Linked DNA regions of Homo sapiens: region 1 is linked to region 2. Evidence: promoter capture Hi-C in human tissues and cell types (Jung and others, 2019). All regions are on one chromosome and are shown on one strand. Each heading gives the region's core, a stretch centred on a gene start or on the middle of the fragment in contact. The rest is flanking DNA. Distances are from core to core; before and after follow the strand shown.

Region 1 (4,837 bases), core at 1,905-4,404, 240 kb after region 2:
ATATATGTATATACATGGGTGTATTATATGTGGATTCCAACTGATTTTTTTTGTTTGTTTGATTTTTTGAGAGGGAGTCTCACTCCAGCCCAGGCTGGAGTGCAGTGGGTGCAATCTCAGCTCACCGCAACCTCTGCCTCCTGGGTTCAAGCAGTTCTCTTGCCTCAGCCTCCCAAGTAGCTGGGATTACGGGCATGTGCCACCACGCCCAACTAATTTTTCTGTATTGTTAGTAGAGATAGGGTTTCACATATTGGCCAGGCTGGTCTCAAACTCCTGACCTCAGGCGATCCACCCACCTTGGCCTCCCAAAGTGCTGGGATTACAGGCGTGAGCCACTGTGCCTGTCCCCAAGTGCATTTTTTTGTCATAACTTTTTTCTTAACATAAAGTTGTGCCTTGGAAAATGGTTCATGAATGTGGAAAAAAATTCAGAGTCCACAAAGGTGTCCTCATTGCTGCCGCCCCCCTTCCCCAAGGAAGCCGACGTCGTTCCCTTCAGAGATGTTCTGTGCATAGGTGAGTGTGTGTGCCTGAGTGTGTGTTTGTGAGTGTGTGTAAATGGGGTGAGAGCACCCCCATTTTCTGTAGTTTAGGGTACATACCTCACTTCTCCTTAATGGGACTTAGAGTTGATTCCATTGCTGCCCATAGAAATCTTTGGGTCACTGTTTGTTTTTTGTTTGTTTTTTAGACAGGGATTTGCTCTGTTGCCCCTGCTGAAGTGCACAGTGACACGATCATGGCTCACTGCAGCCTCAGCCTCCTGGGCTCAAGTGATCCTCCCACTTCAGCCTCCTGTGTAGCTAGGACCACAGGTGCATGCCACCACACTCAGCTATGTTTTTTTATTTTTTGTGAAAACGGGGTTTCACCATGTTGCCTAGGGTGTTCTTGAACTCCTGAGCGCAAGTGATTCTCCCGCCTCGGCCTCCCAAAGTGCTGGGATTACAGGCGTGAACCACCGTGCCTGGCCTAGCTCACTTTTATTTTCTTTTTACACATCTGTAGTTGTGATTTTTCTCCTTGTGATTTGAAAACATACTCTCAGAGCACCTCTTTAAGGGATATGTTTGCCCAAAGCCTGAGGCCAACCCTCCAGCTTTCCTCCCCACTGTTGGTTCCTCAGCCTGAGGTGGGGGGTCTGAGCCATTCTTACCAGCAGGAAGGAGGTCAGGAGCCCTGCTCAGACCTTAATGGTGGCAGAAATGAATGTGACTCACTCATTTTCATGGGACACGTCAGTCAGTGACATGAAATGGCAGAGAAGACATCACCTTTTATTCTTTGCCTGAAGGAAGAAATAAAATCATCTTAGAGTTGAAGCCAAAATCAACCCTTCTGGTTTTTGGAGCCATCGAGTCATTTCATGTGGATCTTGAACACCCCCACACTCCCAGTTCATACACGCGGAGCCTGATTAGGGAAAACATTTGCTTTATGAAATTTTTTTTTCACGTATGTGAGTTGAGTATAAAGAGTAGCCTGGGCCGGGCACAGTAGCTCACAACTGTAATCCCAGCACTTCGGGATGCCGAGCCGGAAGGATTGCTTGAGCCCAGGAGTTCAAGACTAGCTTGAGCAACAGTGGGACCCTGTTTCTACAAAAAATTTAAAAAAAAAAAATTAGCCGTGGCTAGGCGGTGTGGTCACGCCTTAATCCCAGCACTATGGGAGGCTGAAGCGGGCAGATCACTTGAGGTCAGGAGTTCGAGACCAGCTAGGTCAACATGGTGAAACCTCATTTCTACCAAAAAAACCCCAAAAATTAGCCAGGCATGGTGACATATGCCTGTAATCCCAGCTACTCGGGAGGCTGAGGCAGGAATCACTTGAACTGGGGAGGTGGAGGTTGCAGTGAGCCGAGATTGTGCCACTGCACTCCAGCCTGGGAGACAGAGTGAGACTCTGTCTCAAAAAAAAAAAATTAGCTGGGCATGGTGTGTGCCTGTAGTCTCAACTGCTTGGGAGGCTGAGGTGGGAGGATCACTTGAGCCCAAGAGGTCAAGGCTGCAGTGAGCTAAGATCACACCACTGAGCTCCTGCTTGAGCAACAGAGTGAGACCCTGTTTCAAAGAAAAAGTTCAGACACCAGGCACGGGGCTAGGGAGGGGGCTCCTTGCCACCCCCCTCACACTCTTGGCTTTCTTCCCTGTGGGAGTGGAGTGACCCCGTCCTCAGCGTGTTCTGCCCTTGCTCTGCTCGTGTGTGTGTGAATGCATGCATGTGTGGTGTGTGCATGTGTGTGTGTTGTGTGTGCATGTATGTGTGGTGTGTGTGTGCGTGTGTGCTGTATGTTCCTCAGCGTGTCCTGCCCTTGCTGTGCTCGTGTGTGGCTGTATGTGTGGTGTATGCATGTGTGTGTACACCTGTGTGTGTGTGTGGTGTGTGGTGTATGTATGGTGTGTTTATGCATGTGTGTGTGTGCATGTGTGTGTATAGTGTGAGGGTCTTTGCCCTCCTGCAGATTCACCCTGCTGCTGTTTCCCTTCCCACACAGGCTTTTGGGTCAGGGGATGGCTGTTGGCTGTTGTCAGCAGCGGGCCTAAGTTGGAGGGTTCACGCTGCTCCCCTGCATGATGGCCCATGGAGGCTGACTCCATTTCCAGCTCATTCCAGAAACAGGAGTGTTTTTCCATGTAGCATAGTCTCTTGTGTGAGACATCACACTCCACGGTCTTTGCAGCTGGGAACGTTTCTGGTTTTTTTGCTTTTGAGACAGAATCTCTCCCTGTCACCCAAGCTGGAGTGCAGTGGCACAATCTCAGCTCACTGCAACCTTTGCCTCCTGGGTTCAACTGATTCTCATGCCTCAGCCTCCTGCGTAGCTGGGATTACAGGCACACACCACCATGCCTGGCTAATTTTTTGTATTTTTACTAGAGATGGGGTTTCACCATGTTGCCCAAGCTGGTCTTGAACTCCTGAGGTCAGGTAATCCACCCATCTCGGCCTCCCAAAGTGCTAGGATTACAGGCATGAGCAACCGTGCCCGGCCACGTTTCTGTTTTTCCAACCGTTAAGTCCACGTAAACCATGGCGTGCAAGCCTTCCCACGTGATGAGTCCGCATAGGCAGCGTCTGCTGGGTGGTTACCACAGGCAAAGCTTCCATTTTCTGCGATCCTGAATCTTGAATTTCAGTGTGACCACAAGAAGTCATTTACTTAGTGCATCCTCCAACAGCAAGGCTCGGCCAAAACGTCAATCACCAGATGAGGGGGGTTCATTCTAATTTCCATATCACCTCTCCCACTGCTGCCTGAAAAGAAGCCCCACCTGTCTGGGATGTTGCAGTGTTTGTCTGGGAGAGTAGATGTTTGTCGTCTTTGCACTTTCTCTTTTGTTGCTTACTGACTTAAAAGCAATTTGTCTTGGGCTTCTGAATTTCGACTCTCCTTTTGTCATTGCTTGCGGGAGGCACCGACATCACCTCCTGCTTCATGGGCCAGAATATTTCTCTTCCTGTGTATAAAGGGGAGATTCAGGCCTGGAACCTGGGCATGGCCGTGGATGCGTGGAATGAGGAAGGTGATGGCTCCGCCAACTGTTTCTTCCTGTGATTAGGCGTGAGTTGGGAGCTTGGGAGCGCTCGGATGTGTAACTTTGCTTGGTGATAGTTCTCCAAAACAGCCCTTGGAGGGAGGCCCCTGTCACTTGCAGCGTGATGTCCTTCCCCCCCAGCTTGGTTTAACACCCACCGGCTCCTGGTCCCCAGCTCCTGAGAGGTCAGGGTCGAGCTGGAGGACAGAGAGCTGTGTGCTCAGGAACGTCGGGCAAGTGGGTGATCGTTGCCCTGAATCTGAACCCTGGTGCTGGATACACAGGCAGCGGCCGGCTCTGAGCATCTGAGAGCCCGGTCATGGAAGGGATAGTCTCCTGCTGTGCTGTGCCTGGCAGCTAGAAACCCAGCTGTGCTAGGAAGGGTGAGCAGGGCTCAGTGCACCTGTTCTGCAGAGCAATGCGGGAGCAGTCAGTGAAGCTGAAGATGCATATGTGCCCTGTGATCTAGGAATTCCGCTTACGGAAGACAGACTTGTGATCCATGCAAGAATGTTTGTAGCCCCATGATTTGTAATGAAAACAAAATTGGGAACAATAGAAATGTCCATCCTTGGGCAGAAGTTCTGTGATCACACATGGCAAATGACCAAGCGGTAAATAGGAATGAACCAGAGCGACAGGTAGTAGCCCGAACGAGCCACCCAGATGTCATGTTGAGTGAGCACAGGAAGACGCGGGACACATAGAAGGACAGCGTGTGTGTGTTCAAAGGTATGCAAAGTGATGACACATAGTATTCAGGGATGCGTATGGATGGAGCAAAAATGTTAACACACATGGGAATAACAAATCACTATGTCCGAGACAGCGATTTTGGGGAGCACACAGGGAGGGGACTTCATGGGAGGAACACATTATTAGGCTCCCGTGAGAGGTGTGTGGGCGTGGACCATCTCTGTACCTTTGTGTATGTCTGGAATATTGCGTAATAAGTAATAGCTTAAGAGAGAAGAGAGAGCCAGTGTGTGGCTGTGGTGTGTGTTGGGCTTATTTTTAATTCTCCCATACCAGGAAAGGCGGTCTGGGGGAGACAGCAGCAAGCTGGTGTGTACTAAGCCGATCCCTTGCCAGCCCACACACTTCTGGAACAATGAGAACGGCAACAAGTACAGGAAGGCGTATTTCTCCAAATTCCCAGGTCGGCTGGAGAGATGCAGACAGAGCTGCCGAGCCTCTGCGTTGTCTGGGCCTTCCGTGCCTAGTCGTGTGTCCTCGTCCTTCCCCTCCCATCCTGCCCCTCCCCTCTTCCTTCCCCCACCAGGGCTTGGAGAAGC
Region 2 (4,870 bases), core at 1,635-4,134:
GAGAGACCTCATCTCTGCAAAAAATAATTTTTTTTTAATTAATTGGGTGTGGTGGCATGCGCCTGTAGTCCCGGTTATTCAGAAGGCTGAGACAAAAGGCTTGCCTGAGCCCAGGAGGTCGAGGCTGCAGTGACGTGTGATCACACTACTGCACTCCAGCCTGGGCAACAGAGTAAGATCCTGTCTCTTAAAAAACAAAACAAAACGAATCATCTTAAAAAAGCTTACTAGAAAATTCTAAAAGATCAATAAGCAAAACAACAAGAAGTGCTCATCTAACTTTCTACCACCAGAAAAAGTTAACTTTTTGCTATGTCTCTTCAGGTGATTTTCATGCAAATATGGTTCTATATTTAAATAAAAATAAAATCACATTATACAAATAACAGCATCCTGGTCACCACTGTTTACATGCTGCCCAGTAGTTCAGTGTACAGATGATCTAGTTTATGTAACTCCCCTAGCACTGGATGTTTAGGTTGTTTGCACTTTGTTCATACTCTAGAAATGCTGAATTGAGCATCCTGTACAGAATCACAAAGGCGTACAAAGCTTATCTCCTTCAGACATATTTTTCTTTCTTTGTTTTTTTTTTTTTTTTTTTGAGATGGAGTCTTGCTCTGTCACCAGGCTGGAGTGCAATGGCACAATCTCAGCTCACTGCAACCTCCACCTTCCGGGTTCAAGTGATTCTCCTGCCTCAGCCTCCGGACTAACTGGGATTACAGGAGCGCACCACCAGACCCACCACACCTGGCTTTTTTTTTTTTTGAGACGGAGTCTCGCTGTGTCACGCAGGCTGGAGTGCAGTGGCATGATCTCCGCTCGCTTCAACCCCTGCCTCCCGGGTTCAAGTGATTCTCCTGCCTCAGCCTCCAGAGCAGTTGGGACTATAGGCATGCACCACCATCCCTAGCTAACTTCTGTATTTTTAGTAGAGACCGGGTTTCACCATGTTGGTCAGGCTGGTCTTGAACTTCTGACCTCAAGTGATCTGCCCACCTTGGCCTCCCAAGGTCCTGGGAATACAGGGCCTCTCTTTTTCAAATTCCCCGTGTTAGGAAGGAATTATTTAACTCCTCCGTGTCTTTGTCCTCCACAGGGCAAAAACACCTGGATCTTTCACAAAGCTCTGGTAGTGGCAGTGGCCTGGCATTGGAGCCCCATTAAATTCTTTGTCAAAAAGCATGAGACTGGGGGCCGGGCGCGGTGGCTCACGCCCATAGTCCCAACACTTTAGGAGGCTGAGGCGGGCAGATTGCTTGAGGTCAGGAGTTCAAGACCAGCCTTGCCAACTTGTTGAAGCCTGGTCTCTACTAAAAATACAAAAATTAGCTGGGTGTGGTGGCACACATGCCTGTAGTCCCAGCTACCAGGGAGGTTGAGGCTGCAGTGAGCCATGTCCGTGCCACTGCACTCCAGCCTGGGTAACAGAGTGAGACCCTGTCTCAAAAAAGGGAAAGAAAAAAAAAAAAAAGCATGAGACAGGCTCTGAGGCAAGGGAAACACCTTCCTTCCAGAGTTTCTCAGCTACCAAGCCCTCTGGTCCTTCCCTGAGCTTCACTGGGTAGAGAAGCTCAACAACAGATGAAGAAGTTTACCACGTCTAGACCCTGAAGGCAGTTCAAGCAAAAAGAAGCCTTCACTCACCTGTACATGGGCTGGCAGCAACCTCCTTGCCATTTCTCCCTCCCTGCTGCCTCTCTTGGAGAAGGCACCTGGAATGGAGAAAAAAGCTGTGAGGTCTTTTCATCCAGCCTGCATGCCCACCCTCATTAGGCCAGACCAGGTTAGAAGCCATAAGCTGAGCACCTGCAGAGAAGGAGCCTGGAACTGCCCAGGCCAGAGGGGCCCTAAGTCCGGCCACTTAAACCAGTGTGGGAAGCAGGTTCAGAGTCACCGGGCCTGCTACCTTTCTGCCAGTGCTTTACGATAAAGACGAAAGGAGCGAAGGGATGAAGACCATCTGCCGTGCCTTAACAGGGTCAAGGGCAGAATCAGGCAAGGCTCATTCAGATAAAGTAATAGGAAATGACACAATATTCCACACATCTGCACTTGGATGTTGTTCAATACGAAAAACAGCAGTTGAAGAACTGATGCTCTTTTTTAGGAACAGCCAACCAAAAATTAGTCCTCTTTTCTTCCTCTTGTAAGATTTACTTCCTTTATCAAAAACAGTTATCAAAGCTGCTTAAAGGTAGCGTTACCCATTCTCCCTGGCCCCAAAAAAACAAGGGCGCAAGAAAACAGCATCACTAGCTAGAAATTGATTTAAAATTTAGAGAAATGGGAAGAAACGTAGCAAGTGGACATGGTTACGGTAAATAAAAAAAGAAATAGTTAAATCACTCTAGGACTGGCTGTAGGAAAACACTGCCAAACGTGCAAGACTGCCAAAAACGAGTAAATCTAAAGTTTAAACTCCGGGAAACGGAGTAGGGGGAGGCTTAAACCCACAAACACTAAGAGCGAAAAACCGCCCGGAGGGCTCCGGACCCTGAACCGAGGCGGCATTTTGCAGTTTCTGTTCTGGAGCCGTTTCCCCCGGAGTCCGGCCCAGGCTGCGGCCCAGGAGTCCAGCGGCGTCGAAGCGCCCTCCCGGCCTCCGCCAGGCCCTTCCCAGGCCACGCCCCCTCCGGGGCCGGGTTCACCTGCCGAGGCCGCCCCGGCTCGGACGCCCGGAGCCGGGGACTCGGCAGACACGCGCAGAGGCCAGCCCTCGTCCTGGTCCCGCCGCGGCAGCCGCACGCCCCGGGCCCGCCCTCACCGGCAGCCTGTACCTGGGCCCGCCTCGGCGGGGGGCGCGCAGCTCCACACCGCACAAGAGGCGAGCGGAACACCTAATTCAGAGACGTTTCCCGTCGCTGCCGGGCGCAACTGCGCCTGCGCGCCGGAGAGCCGACGGGTTTCCCTGGCTGAACCGCAGCGTTTGTCCCTCCGGACTTCATTTCCCAGACGTCGCTGCGGCACCACCACTTACGGTGTCCGAGAGAGAACCACAGCGCCGAGAGCGGAGAACGCGGTCGGGCTGTGGAGTTCGAGAAGGCTGAAGCCGAGTCCCTCAGCTTGGGCTCCAACTACTCTCCCTCCGCTAAACCACCCATTGTATTCGTAATTAGAATGACAAAAATAGTAAGACGGAAAAGTGAGTATGAATTTTTAAATCTGGAAGACTAGCCGCTGCTGATTATTCGCAGGTGGTGACAGAACTATTACAGTCCATTCTGCGATTTTAATTAAAAATGAATTATGTCTAAATTTTATAATCTCGGCCGGGCGCGGTGGCTTATGCCTGTAATCGCAGCACTTTGGGAGGCCGAGGTGGGCGGATCACAAGGTCAGGAGACCGAGACCATCTTGGCCAACATGGTGCAACCCTGTCTCTACGAAAACACGAAAAATTAGTCGGGCGTGGTGGCACATGCCTGTAATCCCAGCTATTCGGGAGGCTGAGGCAGGAGAATCGCTTGAACCTGGGAGGCGAAGGTTGCGGTGAGCTCAGATCGCGCCATTGCACTCCAGCCTGGGTGACAGAGCAAGACTCTGTCTCAAATAAATAAATAAATAAATAAATAAATTTTTGTAATCTTTACATATTTACTGGCACTCAGAGTAAAACAAAAGCATAAGCCTAGTATTTCCCTCTTCATGGCACTCACTTCTTTTGAAGTGACTTCTTTAAAACGTAAAATAAAGCCCAACTCCCAGCGCTATCATCACAACTGCATCCTCGGTGACCGGCACTGTACACGCCAAATACTATGTGCTCAGAAAGTGTTGATTTTTAAAATATCAAACATTAGCGTTTACAGAGACAAACCTAAACACAAAGGGTACTTGAAGATAGAAAATGCAGAGAGGGACTAAGAGATATCAGGTAGATAATATGAAAAAGAAATCTTGGATCACGATGTTACAACAATACAAAGATTATTGCAATGTAAAAATAATTAAATCGAACAAAATGGATGTTTTATATTGTTAAAAGATAATAATGCACATCACTAATCATTAGGGGAATGCAGATCAAAGCAGATCAAACATCCACTGCGATTTCACACTCATTAGGTTGGCTATTATAAAATTTGGAAAAAAAAGAAAACCAGAAAACAATCCTTGTGCCTTAATGGTGGGAATGTAAAATGGTAGCGCTGCGCTGGAAAACGGTATGGCAGTTCCTCAAAAAAAAATTAAATGTAGAATTAACACATGGGCAATTCCATTTCTGGACCATATGTTATTTCTATATTTAATTATTATTTTAAAATAATAATAATAAAGATATGACAGTTATAGACCATTATTGACAAAACAACATAGCATTGAGATTTACAAAGTAAAAGGTGCCAGACTGAGTACCCATGATTACCTCCCTTTTTCTCTTCATATTCTTCAAAGTAACCCCAAACACATATAATTTTCAAAGGAGCAAATCTAATGCAACTCTAGAAAAATACCATCAGAACACCAGAAATTGAGGAAACATTTGGAAGACATGCAGGAGACAAGTGCTCTGATACCCAAAATCTAATAAAAAGATTCAGAAGAAAGCAGAGAAAATGGGGAGGGGGAATAATAACAGATTGATTACATACAGAAATAGTGATAGAGATATAGCAGAAAACACATTCAAGCTGAGGAAGCCCTGAGTCTTCAGAGTAAATAAAATGTAGGGAGTTTGGCATAATGAATGAGCTAGGGTAGGGATGGCCCATAAAAAATACATCCTCGATGAAATATCACAACTCTGAGGATAAATAGGAACCCCTAAAAGTGGCCAGAAAAGACGGAATAAAAGGTTGGCATGTGTTATTTGCTACAAGTCACAGAAGATGGAACTGCTCAAGTTGGCTGAAATGAATAAGGA

The links. The method cuts DNA at HindIII sites, captures the fragments that hold promoters and counts their contacts. A contact is called where the count stands out against the background at its distance.
Region 1: a contact is called between a fragment that was not itself captured here and the fragment with the promoter of ZNF879 in region 2, in 1 of the 25 tissues and cell types used here (spleen).

Annotation. Positions count from the first base shown.
Region 1 is chr5:178,780,951-178,785,787 of GRCh38, reverse strand. It overlaps the pseudogene AACSP1. Among named protein-coding and RNA genes, the nearest start is that of ZNF354A, 53 kb to the right of the region's middle. The HindIII fragment of the contact is 4,602 bases long and covers 854-4,837 here.
Region 2 is chr5:179,021,818-179,026,687 of GRCh38, reverse strand. It overlaps ZNF879 (zinc finger protein 879), which reads right to left and starts at 2,884. Exons shown (of 5, transcript NM_001136116.3): 1 at 2,784-2,884; 2 at 1,651-1,718. The coding sequence starts at 1,683. RefSeq lists an enhancer at 2,755-3,256. The HindIII fragment of the contact is 17,237 bases long and covers 389-4,870 here.